Linked DNA regions of Homo sapiens: regions 1, 3 and 4 are each linked to region 2. Evidence: promoter capture Hi-C in 16 types of primary human blood cells and fetal thymus (Javierre and others, 2016). All regions are on one chromosome and are shown on one strand. The core of a region is centred on a gene start or on the middle of the fragment in contact, and the rest is flanking DNA. Distances in the headings are between cores, read along the strand shown.

Region 1 (3,225 bases), core at 269-2,768, 350 kb before region 2:
AGTCACTTAGTGCAGTGTCTGGCACTCAAGTGCTCAGTACTGGCTGGTTTTCACTACAAAGGGCTCTACAGTTGTTTGTTATAGGTATTGGGTTAGTGCAAAAGTAACTGTGATTTTTGCCATTTCAGTGATGAAGACCACAATTACTTTTGCACCAACCCAAATAATTTGAAAATTGGTTCAAAGTGAGACAAGTCTCCACACAAACGAATCTAAACTAAATTGCTTTGGCTTGATTTTTATCCCCAAAATGCTGAACCTTGAAAGATATTATTTGGTTTGCTTTGCATTAATTATAGAATCTACGTATTCTATAATTGTGCATTGTGACTTCCTTTAACGATCAACTGTTAGGTCTTTCCCACCTGTTCTTGGGCCCCAGGCAGCAATAACTAGTATGTTGCCTTCTAACTACCTGATATTTTCTCGTGAGCAGAAATCACTAAACATGTCTCTGCTTCCTTTGACCCAGAGTATCTCCCATGGGGACACCCCAGTGTACCCTTCTCCCCTCTAGTGGGAGAGAACCAAGTGAAAGGGCAGCTTAAAGGACTGTATCCTTGCGATGTGGAAACTCTTGCCAATGGTCTGAGACAAGAAGCCTAGTCAGTATCTTTTAGTGACCTGATTTTTCTCTTGCCTTACTCAGGGAGACCTTGTAGCTGTTGGAGTACTATCTGGAAACAGGAATTTTGAAGGTCGAGTTCACCCCAACACCCGGGCCAACTATTTAGCCTCTCCCCCCTTAGTAATAGCATATGCAATTGCTGGAACCATCAGAATCGACTTTGAGAAAGAGCCATTGGGTAAGATTTTGTTTGTGCAGCCATAATTTTTTTCCAGTGAATTCAGAAATATTACTAGAAGAAACTGCTTTCCTTAATAAGAAATGAAGCATAGAGCCTCCAGGGATAAGACAAAGAAGAGAATAATTTCTTTATTCCCCAATATACAGCTAAGACTTAACTGCAGTAGTTAAAACAAGAATCTACTGAGGGTAAAGGATAACGAAAGGAAAACAGGTGCCAAAAGGAATAGACATCTTGCTATTCTGGTTTCTTCTGTAGTTCCTCCCTTTCTAGCTCTCACTTTAATGATAGGCATTGTTTCAATATATACTCTGTAGAAACATACTGCAGATATTTCAACTTCTCAGAATTCCAAAGAAATGATACATCATTTCCTTTCCCCAGATCAGCTTGCTTGCTCTGCCTGCCTCAATCTATTCTAAGCCGAATAGATAATATGAAAACAATGCCTCTGAAATTTACTTTTAGGAAATCATAACTTTAGACGTACAGTTGATCCTCGTTATTTGTGAGTTCTATGTTTGCAGATTTGCGTAGTCACTAAAATGTATTTTAACCCCCAAATCAGTATTTGTAGTATGTTCACGGTCATTCACAGATCAGCACAAAGGGGTGAAAACTTTATATCATTCAACACACACGTTCTATGCTGAGATCTGATAAGGCGTCACTCTGACTTCTTGTTTCAGCTCTCCTGCGATATATAAGGATCCTTTTCTTGGTCTACGTAGTGCCATGCTTTTTGCATTTTTGTGCTTTTTGTGGTGATTTTGCTGTTCAAAATGGTCCTTGAGCATAGTCCTGAAGTGCTTCTGGTGTTCTTGAGCACAAGCCGACTGTGATGCGTACTGTGTTTAGATAGGCTTCGCTGGAAGTTCAATGTCAGTGAGTCAACAATTGCTATTAAATAAGGTGAATAATAAACCTCACATGAAGCAAGGTTATGTATTGATGGGTGACCAGAGGCTTGCAGGAACCTAACCCTGTATTTCCTCCAGTGGCAGTGATTCCGTATCCAGTCATTCAGTGTTCACACGGGCTTTATAGAACATAACTACCGAGGAGAACGAGGCTTGACTCTGTATAATCATGAAAATTGCATATTAGAAAGTTTTCTCATTAATAAACATTTTTTCCCCAGGAGTAAATGCAAAGGGACAGCAGGTATTTCTGAAAGATATCTGGCCGACTAGAGACGAGATCCAGGCAGTGGAGCGTCAGTATGTCATCCCGGGGATGTTTAAGGAAGTCTATCAGAAAATAGAGGTGAGGTCCCACACTGCCCTCCCCGCCCCAGAGGATCTAAGGGAAAGCTGCTCCCTTTGTGTCCTGTCTGCAGACCTCAAGGCTAACGGAAGTATAAACTATATAAAGTAACATTTATTTCTTCAGATGACTGGGGAGGTGGTTCTCCGTCATTTTTCTCCTGTGACTCGCATTTTTACAAACCCCACCTCCCCCAGATGTTCCCAGATTTGGACAAGTTGGTGACAGCCTAGAGAAGAAAGGCCTCCTCAGGTTCAGCTCTCCAAAACCCCACGCCTTTCTCGGACACCCAGGGGTGTGTGTCAGCTGTGGCGAGGACCCCTGGTGGTCACTATATTGTGTCACTAAGTGGAGTCCATTGGTCGAATGCACCTCTCAGAATGCATTTTTGCACACTTAAAAATAAAGAAATTAAGGCCACTCAGTAGGAAGTGCCAAACTACTGAAATAAAACTTTCCGTGCATTTTACAAATAGGAGGAAATGTGTGGGGCTCAGCATTATATTCTGAGACTCTTGGATATTATTCCTTTCCCCGCCTTCTGCATTCAGCTGACCCAAGGGCTTCTGACTGCGGCTGATGGTTTAAATGAGGGTAGAACTGTCTAGGGGAAGGGGTGATGTAGGTGTGATGTTCACACGCTGCACTCTTCACAAGGTGCTCCTTGGGAGATGGTGTTAGGGAGCTTGGCAGGCATTATGTTAAATGCCTTCCTCCAAAGGCCGAGTTAATGGACCTGTGGACAGAATTCAAACCAATTTTAATGCATAGCAGCTGTCATTTGCTACCCAGTGTTTGTGTGACCTGGAAGGCCACTTCCCAAAACACTCAGAGAGTAATTTCCCCTTTGGTACAATCTGGATTATTATTTCATAAGTTATTGATAAGCATATGCATTAGTTATCTATTGCTGTGATATAGCAATAGATATAGTGAGTTGAAACAACAAACATATATTGTCTCCCATTTTCTGTGGGTCAAGAATCCAGGCACAGCTTCACTGTGTACTTTCACAGGGTTCCAGTAAGATGTCATCTGGGGCTGCAGTCTCTGGAGGAGGGTCCACTTAGGCTCACTCATGTGGCTATTGGCAGGATCAAGTTCCTCAAGGGCTGTTGCACTGAGGTCCTCCGTTTCTCACTGGCTGTTC
Region 2 (3,502 bases), core at 313-2,812:
CCGACATTGTTAAGGCCACATCATGTCTTGCCCGGCTTACTGAACTTCTCAGCTTACTGAACAAGACTCCCGGCTTCCAGACTTACCAGCTCCAACCTATGCTCTCACCTGCCGCCCCTTTCAGTCAAACTGGAATGTTTTTGTATTGATCTTTGCTTAAAATACATCAAGCGTTCTTCATTGCCTAGTGGATAAAAAGTCCTTAGTCTCACAGCCTTTATGATTTGTTTGGCTCCTGTCATACATGATGAAGACACTAATTATGATGACAAATATATATACATATACATGTGTACGTGTGTGCATGTGTGTGTAATTTTTGTACACAGACTATGTACCAAGCATTGTGCTAGGAACTTTACGTTTATTTAATCCTCACAATGTTTCCTCATATATTTGGTATTAATCTCATTTTACAGATAGGACGACTGATTCTCAGAGAGGTTAAGTCACTTGCCCAGGAATATACAGCTAGTTTAACTGGGGAAGGCCTGGATGTGAAAATTCTTTCCAGTAAATCAGTGTCTTGACATGAAAGCATGTACCGCTCATCAACCTGTTCTCCACCGCCCTCCTCTATCCTAAATGGGCAGCCCTGTTGAAGAATCACAGCCAAAGCCAGTCTTGCCCCCCGGGGCCAGAGGAATCCATCTGCCCCTGCCTACCAGAGCGGGAGGAACGCAGGCTCTCAATGCCTGCTTCAGCAAGGGAGGAGAGAATCGCCCAGAGCTGAGCGGCGTCGTAGGGTGGTGGTCCTGACCGGTCAAGGCCCCTTCTCCTCGTGAACTGGGGGCCAGGGAGCCCTTCTCCCTGTCCCCCCGGCACCACAGCGCTGTAGAAGTGAAATCCCGGCTCCAAGGTCACCCTCTCCCGAGCCTGGAGCTGGAAAGCCACGGGGACTCCGGGGACTCCCCCAAGGCCCGGACTAGCCTGGCACCCACCCCTCACCACTAACCCACTCCGCCTGGGCGCTGGTTCTGTGCGCTCCCGCGGCGCAGTCGCTCCGCTGCAAGAGCGCTTTCGCGCGCCGCCACCGCCCAGAGCCGGGACCAAAGCAGTCCTCGGGCACCGGCTCCCCGAGGGACACACACCCCCCCGCGCCCCGAGTCGAGGGGTTGAGAGAAGGGCGGTCGGGGAGCCCCTGGGCCTGCCGTCAGTCACCCGGATTTGTAACTGGAGAAGGGTGCGGGTCCCGGAGGGACATCTCCAGCTGGCACCTAACTCCTCGGATCCCGGACTGGGAGCCCGAGCTCGGATATTGCAACGGCTGCCCCGTGGGCAAACCGACCCTGGTTTCCGACTCCGGCCACTGGCAGCCTCGCGCCCCAGACCCTTCCCGGGCACGGAAGCGGGTCAGGTCGCCCTGCTCAGCCTCCGGAACGGCGGCGGCACAAACCCCGGCCGCTCCCAGCAGCCCCGACGAGACCCCGGGCAGCGCCTGCCGCCGGGTGGCCTCCCTCTGGGGCTGACCCCCTCGCGCCCCCGCGCGTCTGTCTGCGTTTCTGAGCCTGCTCTGACAGTGATGTAACAAGGCCAGGCTCGCGCCGCGTCCCCTCTTTCCCAGACTCAGTGCTCCCTCCTCCTCCCGCGCCCCGCGCTCTGCGCGCTGAGCTGGCGCCGGGCTCCGCTTGCACAGCACCGGGACCGACGGGCACTGCTGGGAGAGCCGCTCTCCCAGGTTCCACCTCCCCGATGCAGAGTCCGTGGGGGAAACCAGGCTTTCCTCCCAGAACCAAGGGAGCGAGCCGAGGGGGCAGCTGCTGTGGGGGCTTCTGAGGAGACAGCCTGGCTTCTTTCCCTACTTCCTGGAGAGGGCAGGAAACCTCAGGTACCTCGTTGACCCCAGCCGGAGCGTGTTGATATGAGAGAGAGACGGAGGTTGCAATAGTGAGAGGAAGAGAGGGAGGGCACAAGAAAGGGAGGGAGGGAGAGGGGACGGAGAGAAAGAGTAGAAATAGAAACAGGGAGAGATTGCAAGAGAAACGCAGAGAGAGAGATAGAGAGATTGCAAGAGAGATACAGAGACAGAGATCAAGACTGAAAGTCAAGAAGCAAGTCGGAGACAAAGGGCAAGAGAAAGACAAGAGTTGATGGGTGGGAGCTTGACTTGGATTTTTTTTTAACGCACTGTGGTTTCATCTCTGACAGAATAGAGGAACGCTGCTCCCTGGTCAGCAAGCAGCCCCCAACCTGGATGGAGTGAAACATGCGGCCTGATGACATTAACCCGAGGACTGGGCTGGTGGTGGCCCTGGTCAGTGTCTTCCTCGTCTTTGGTTTCATGTTCACCGTCTCTGGGATGAAAGGGGAGACTTTGGGAAACATCCCCCTCCTGGCCATCGGGCCAGCCATCTGCCTACCAGGCATCGCAGCCATTGCCCTGGCCAGGAAAACCGAGGGATGCACCAAGTGGCCAGAGAACGAGCTGCTGTGGGTCCGCAAATTGCCCTGCTTCCGGAAACCCAAAGACAAGGAGGTGGTAGAGCTGCTGAGGACCCCTTCAGACCTAGAATCCGGCAAGGGGAGCTCAGATGAGCTGGCTAAGAAGGCGGGCCTCAGGGGGAAGCCTCCCCCACAAAGCCAGGGTGAGGTGTCCGTGGCCAGCTCCATCAACAGCCCCACACCCACGGAGGAAGGAGAATGCCAGAGCCTCGTCCAGAATGGGCATCAGGAGGAGACGTCCAGATACCTGGACGGCTACTGCCCCTCGGGCAGTTCCCTCACCTACAGTGCCTTGGACGTCAAGTGCTCAGCAAGGGACAGATCTGAGTGCCCTGAGCCTGAGGATAGCATCTTCTTTGTGCCCCAGGACAGTATCATCGTTTGCTCCTACAAGCAGAACAGCCCGTATGACAGATACTGTTGTTATATCAATCAGATACAAGGCAGGTGGGACCACGAGACCATCGTCTAATCTCTGCCTACAAAGGTGGCTGGATTGATAGAATATGACTAAGCCCAGCTCCCCGTGGAAGCAAATTGCTCTGCTTGGAGAGCCTTCACACTGTTAGAAATTGACCTGGTATGTGATGGGTGTGATAACCTCTGGTACCCGAGAGTCATGTAAATAGGCATGTTGGGGACACATTTTAGGGAAGGGCGATGAGGGTTAAGGACACTGGAAGAGGCAGTGGGTAGGAAAGGAAGCTACTCCAGTTGCTTCTTAACAATTTACACAATGTTAAATGTTTTGTAAAATAACCCAAAAAGTGCTATCCAGAACCAGCTGAGAGCAAGATAAATCTAGAGTGGGCTGCAGATGTGAGGCATCAAATGATGCATGAGCTGACCACAGGGAAACTGAGCTGCTTTATGTTTGAATAAGTTGAAAATAAAATTAATGATCCGTTATATAAAGTAATTTTTGCCTGGTTAAAAGCTTATCACACTTGGTATTTGCTGAAAGAAAAAAAAATCAAGATACAAGAGTTAAACCCTCCTTAGATGGGATGGTTTTTGGGAAAAGGGTAGTTAAAGAGAGTTGGATTATGTAACTGAGTCT
Region 3 (3,003 bases), core at 473-2,972, 460 kb before region 2:
TGCCCTGAATTTGTCAGAGCCATCTCTTCCCTCCCGCTTTAGCTCTGAAAGCAACACTCAAAAGAGGGTATTCGGTTACACAAATTATATCTAGAGGATATTGACCAAAGATTTATTGTTCAATATGTATAATTAGAATGATTTTTGTCACAATTAATCAAGAGGCAGAACAAGTGACAAGTCCATCAGAGTGCAACAAAAGCATCAATTTGGGTTACAAGACAATCCATAGTTGATCATGGCTTCTATTAAGTCTTAGAGCTACAAAGGTTCTAACTTTGCCATCTGCTACTTCATCAAATGGTTTATAGGAAAGCTTCTAACCTAGAGAAAAACCAATGCAGCTGTGGGCTGCTTGCTTCTATCTTTTTAAATTAAGACTTTTCAAAAAAGTGTATGGCCCAATTCAAGCTGCAAGAAAAAGGTAAATGATTTTATGTAGTATAGTGCCCACAAACCCTGGAATTTATAATTGTAAAAGCTCAACCACAATGTATTTAGAATTGACGGCATAGTAGGCACTGTCCTAGCCACTGGGGATATCTAGATAAAGGAAATATTATAGAACTTGGCCTACTAGCCAATCAGGACATCTTCCCAACTGCTCTCTTTCCAGATAGAGTCAGCAAATCTCCCTCCCAGTTATCAACACTGAAGGGCACTATCCAATATCTGTATAGCTATGGAGTCACTATTAGAGGAGGATAAAATCAGGGTCGTCTCTCCCTTACCTGCCCTGACTCTCCCGGGACCCCCACCTCGTCTTCTGAGTTCACAACGGAGTTCTCTCTAGCCCAAAACCAACTCTTATAACACAGAGAGAAGAGAGTCACAGGTTTGTCCCTAGATGATAACACAGACTAATGCCCCTAAACAGACAACTTCAAGGTTTCTTTAAGTGGCTTAGCTTTTATTTACTAAGTCAGTAAAAAGTCTTTGTAGGTCTAAGACCGAAAAGAAAGCATAATCAACTACAGCTTCAACTGATTCATTTTTAAAGGAGAGTCAGGGTCATAAAGCAAACAGAATTACTCATCGATAGTGCCAGGAACTGACCTGTTTCTGATAACTGGCCCCCTTTTTTGAGAGGTGACTGTATCTGTTTCTTAATACCTGGGGCAAAGTCAGTTACACACCTTGTGATGACAGACAAAAAGAGGCAGCCAGGACAGAAAGACAAACTTCGCATGTTCTCACTCATTTGTGGGAGCTAAAAATTAAAACAGTTGAATTCATGGAGGTAGAGAGCAGAATGATGGTTACCAGAGGCTGGGAGGGTAGCTGGTAGAGGGTAGGGGGACAGTGAGGATGGTTAATGGGTACAAAAATGTAGTTAGATAGAATGAATAAGATCTAGTATTTCACAGCACAACAGGATGACTACAATCAACAATAATTTATTGTACATTTTAAAATAACTAAGCATATAACTGGATTGTTTGTAACACAAAGAAATAAATTCTTGACATAATGAATACTTCATTTACCCTGGTGTGATTATTACACATTTTGTGCCCGTATCAAACTAGCTCATGTACCCCATAAGTATATACATCTACTATGTACCCATAAAAATTAGAAATAAAAAAGTTTAAAGTTTAAAAACTAACAAAAAAGTTAAAATTAAATAAAAGCTTATTGAATAAGATATAAAGGGAAAAAAGGCAGCCAGAATGAGATCCCAATTGGTGGAAAGGGCAATGAACTTTAAACAGTGGTTCCCTATTCTATTCTGCAGTCTTCTTTATGGAAGCCGTATACATGTGTGCATGAAGACAGAGAGAGACCAACAGGAAAGAGAAAGTTAAAACAAGCTTTTAGAGAGTATTTCCCATGAGCATCTCATAGTCTAGTCAGGGAGATGGACAAGTAAGTTTGCAAGAATTGCAAAACAGTGTTTTACACTTCACAATGGAAGTGTCCTGGAGATACCAAGCAGGGAATGGTAAACACTGTTAGATGAAGGCAGAGAAGGCTTCATGAAAGAGGTGATGACTTTTGAAGGATGAGTAGGAAATTCTAGGTGCATTAGGGGATTAAGGGCAATTCAAACTGCATACACTGCACCTGCTTCACTTTGGTGAGTGGCTCTCAAATTTAGCATGCATCAAAGTCACTTGGAGAGTTTATTAAAGCACAGATTACTGGGCCTCATCCCCAGAGTTTCATATTGAATAGGTCTGAAGTGGGCCCACAAATCTGATTTTCTAAAAAGTTGGCAGGTGATGTTGAAGCTGAGAACTGCTGGCTTAGGTGCACTGTGAGGAAAAATTAGTGGAGAAAGATACTCTGAGAAATAGGCAGGGCTGATTATAAGGGAAATATAGACACTGTAATCTGGACAGTGGGACCCATTGACAGGTTCTAAGCAGTAGAGTGCAATAATCACATGTGAGTTATAAGAGGGCAACTCTGATGGAAGTGTGGAGGGAAAGGGTGGTTATAACACAGTACCAGTCAGCCAGTCAGGAAATGATGAAGTCATAACAAAGGCCCAGGGGGAGCAGTAGAAATATAGAGGATGGATCTAAGATTACTTATGCAAAAACAAAAACAAAACCCAGTCTCTTGAGCTATGTTCTAAAAGGAGGACAGTAAATCAGCTGTTTCCCTTGCCTCTAGAAACTGTTATTTGTTCTCTTGCCTTATTAAAATAAATATGCACGATATACTTCTGGGAAAGGGCACAGATTTTAGTAATGTTTACTTAACAACCATCATTTGTTCATTCTTTTTTCCAAGGAAAAGGGAAATACCCTTATTTGGTGAAGCAAGCGTGTCCCCATGGGTTTTCCATATGCATCTCTGTTGCCCACGAAGCGCTGGACTAAGCATGCCTGGGAAAAGAAAGGGGTAGGTTGGGGGAAGCCTGCGTATTCATAGCTCTAGGAGAAGCAGACCAGGAAGGCCGGAGTAGCATAGGGAAGGGATATAGAGAGGGCGAGAGGAAGGGCAGAAGCAACAAAAGCTGTGCACCTGCAAGGATGGAATAAGGATTTCTAG
Region 4 (3,315 bases), core at 214-2,713, 410 kb before region 2:
TGTGTTCTTTTAAGCCACTGCATTTTCCATAGGCTAATCCAGCAAGCAGTGTACTCAACCAGGTAACTATTGTCTTCATATTGGACCGTGTTAATCCAAAAAGAGAATCCTGATGGCTGAATCAGAATCAATTTTAATTCCATAGTATCCCTTTTGGCTACACTGCTAAAGGTAGGAGGATGTACAAACCACTGGTCTAGGGTTGCTCTAGGGTAAAGAAAGATCCATTGTGTCCAAGAATGGTTAGTACAGAATTCCAGATTTTCAAAATAGGCCTATATAAACCCTTGTCCTTTCATTTTGATTAGTATCCAGAAAATAACCCCTTGGCCACGTCTTGTCTCCATTATGGTTCTGGAGACAACCACATTTAGTGACCATACTGTCTTACTACTCTTTACAGGAGGAGGTGAGAAAAGTAGAGTTGAAATCTTTTTAAGTCAATTTGTGAGAAATCCATTTCAGATTCAATATCATCTGATATTGTTGAGTCAATACTTGAGTCAAGTCAAGGATCTTGAGAAGTATTGTTGAGTCAATACATAACAATATCAGATGCCTGCAGATGGAGCATGGAATTGAATTCTTGATTATGGGCTTATCATTGGGTGACCTTTGTCACAAAAGTGGTACCATTGTCAGGCTGCAAATGGTCCAGAAAATCAAGTCTCAAGAGCCACAGGAGTACAGACAGAGTTGGCTGATTGGACTGCGGAAAAGTATCAAGAGCAGTGAGACACCACCAGTAGATACAGAAGGAGGTCAAAGGTCCGATACTGTCAGTGTACCAGGAATGGACAGAGTTCATACCTGTGCAATGCAACCTCCTTCACCACAAGACCAGCCAGCCAATCCTTGACAGGAGTTTCAAGTCTGACACACACTGGTAGCTTCCACATTAGAAGTGTATAACCCTTTATCTTGTGCCAAGTCAATGATGATATATATGTGGCCATGTCTAATACAGTGATAGATTAAGGTGGTAGAAGAAATGAGCTGGACATTTCAGGCTGGATCAACAGCTTGATTTCTGTAGGTCTCACTGGAGAATGGGTTCTTAATACAAACATCATCTAACATGAATGGCCTAGGTATTTTATCATCAGCGATGGCTTATTTCCACAGTTCATTTCCTGAGAGAGAAGTATCTTTAATCTGTTAGTCTATAGGCTTGTAAGTGACAGGCCATATAGCAGACCAAATGGCTGGATCATTGGCAATATCCCAAGAGTTAGTAAAAATATAAGCTTTTGTGGGAAGTATTGGGCAGAATTATGAGAATGGTCTTAAATTCTTCCCACTGAGTGGACAAGCATATCAGTTTTCAGGGTGCCATGTACAGAGCAGCAATTGACTACTGTAGCAGCCTAATGGACACCAACAGGTTTCAACTTAGCCAAACCATCAGTAAACCAGGCCCAGGCATTGAAAGAAACACTGTGAATCAAGGGCCTCATTGATCTGGTGGCCTTACTTCAAGCAGTGTAATGAAAATATTTTCCCTAAAATGATAGCTGCCACTCTTTCATGTAAACTGAGATGCTACTGGGGACAGACCAACTCTATCCTTGAATATTACAATTTCCATTTGACAACTGAGATATATCGGGCCTTTTCCTTATAGGTTGTCAAATCCAAGATAACCCATTCCAAAATGGAGACATCAGGCTGCAGAGTCACAAAGCTTCTATGGGTCAGCAGTTCAGCTTCTTGACCCAAAGTCTATACAGGTCAATAGCTCAGCAACAGGACAACAGAAGCCCCTGTTTTTAAAAGAGGTGTACTTGGTGCTTGCATCAGTTGTTACTAGGAAATTGCCTCCTGAATACTGCAGCCATTAAGTCTTTAAAGCTTTAATTTCCATTTCTTCTCAGGTTTTATATTCTCTTTGCTATACTACTGGGAAGGGGACAGAGATTACCCCTCCACATGCCACAGTCCTTGAATAGAAGAATTCCTCTGGGCTTCATGAGGATTCACAACACAAGCACGTACAACATGAACACCAATTATACATTCATCAGTGAAAGACACAGCAAACAGTACGTTGGATTGGCCCTAAAGGTCCTACAAGGTCACGTTAATTTTCCTCCCACATGGAAAAAATGTTGCCCAAACCCCATCAGTTGAATTTGGAGCACATTTTCCCCCATGGCAGAGGTTCATTCTTGACATTTAGGAGTGGTTAATTCTTTGTCTGGGGGTTCCCAAGCACTGTAGGAAACTTAGCAGTATCCCTGCTTTACCAACTAGATGCCAGTAGAACACCCCCCACATCGTCCCCCGGCTCAGTTGTGACTATCAAAAATGTCTCCAGGCCCACCACAGTGGCTCACGCCTGTAATCCCAACACTTTGGGAGGCCAAGGCAGGCAGATTACCTGAGGTCAGGAGTTCGAGAACAGCCTGGCCGACATGGAGAAACCCCATCTCTACTAAAAAAATAATAATAATTATATAACAAAAATTAGCTGGGCATGGTGGCTGGTGCCTATAATCCCAGCTACTTGGGAGGCTGAGGCAGGAGAATCACTTGAACCCAGGAGGTGGAGGTTGCAGTGTGCCAAGATCGTGCCATTGCACTCCAGCCTGGGCGACAAGAATGAAACTCTGTCTCAAAAAAAAAAAAAAAAAAAGTCTCCAGACATTGTCACATGTCCCCTGGGTGGGAGGAGAGGACAAAATGACCCTGGTTGAAAAACACTGCCCTATAGAAATATGGACCAAGAAGTCTAACAGGCATAACAGGACTGTAACAATAGCTGCTGGAAGGGGGATGCAGATGAGGGGAGAAGATGGCTTTTCTTATCCTTTGTCTCTCCCAACCAGGCTCAGGGTAAATTCCCTTGCACCCTACAATCCTCAGTACCTTTAGATATCCTTGTGCCCAGCACCCTCTCCATTCATGAGACTGGGAAGGATTATGACTTGGGCACCTATATTCAACAGAGCTAAAAATATTTGAGTTCCTCCCCTCCTTTCAGTTCCCCCGCATACTCAGCATTTTCCTTAAAGCAGTTGAGGCTGGGGTACAGGGGAAAGGAAGGGTCAGGAAGTGCAGAGGGAAAGAGCAGTTTCAGGCCAGTAAGCCAGTTTGCATCAGCTTTCCATTTCAAGCAGCTACCAGCAGGTTGGGCTCATTCAAGTGAACATCTGGCTTTGGTCCACCTGAAGCTGTATCTACTTACAGATGACATCATTATTTAAGCTTTGGGGGGACTCCTTGACCAATCAGATACAGCCACTTTTGGCTTCCCCACTTTTGCGGCCTAATTGTCATATAAAGTCCCTTCTTCCTGTTCCTGAGGAGAGTGAG

What was found. Contacts are between HindIII fragments. The CHiCAGO score rates a contact against its expected background, and 5 or more counts as called.
Region 1: a contact is called between a fragment that was not itself captured here and the fragment with the promoter of TMEM215 in region 2, in 1 of 17 cell types (M2 macrophages). The highest score is 5.1, in M2 macrophages.
Region 3: a fragment that was not itself captured here is called in contact with the fragment with the promoter of TMEM215 in region 2 in 4 of 17 cell types (total CD8 T cells, endothelial precursors, total B cells and 1 more); the score reaches 6.1 in total CD8 T cells.
Region 4: a contact is called between a fragment that was not itself captured here and the fragment with the promoter of TMEM215 in region 2, in 1 of 17 cell types (M0 macrophages). The highest score is 5.1, in M0 macrophages.

Annotation. Positions count from the first base shown.
Region 1 is chr9:32,429,769-32,432,993 of GRCh38, forward strand. It overlaps ACO1 (aconitase 1), which reads left to right. Exons shown (of 21, transcript NM_002197.3): 14 at 650-806; 15 at 1,951-2,075. Among named protein-coding and RNA genes, the nearest start is that of ACO1, 47 kb to the left of the region's middle. The HindIII fragment of the contact is 9,294 bases long and covers 1-3,225 here.
Region 2 is chr9:32,781,978-32,785,479 of GRCh38, forward strand. It overlaps TMEM215 (transmembrane protein 215), which reads left to right and starts at 1,563. Exons shown (of 2, transcript NM_212558.3): 1 at 1,563-1,828; 2 at 2,149-3,502. The coding sequence starts at 2,207. The coding sequence ends at 2,914. LOC105376017 (a long non-coding RNA gene) reads right to left here and starts at 929. Exons shown (of 7, transcript XR_929559.2): 1 at 666-929. The HindIII fragment of the contact is 4,873 bases long and covers 1-3,377 here.
Region 3 is chr9:32,319,992-32,322,994 of GRCh38, forward strand. All of the region lies in intron 1 of LOC107987059 (a long non-coding RNA gene), which reads right to left. Among named protein-coding and RNA genes, the nearest start is that of ACO1, 63 kb to the right of the region's middle. The HindIII fragment of the contact is 180 bases long and covers 1,633-1,812 here.
Region 4 is chr9:32,373,355-32,376,669 of GRCh38, forward strand. No RefSeq gene overlaps it. Among named protein-coding and RNA genes, the nearest start is that of ACO1, 9.6 kb to the right of the region's middle. The HindIII fragment of the contact is 437 bases long and covers 1,246-1,682 here.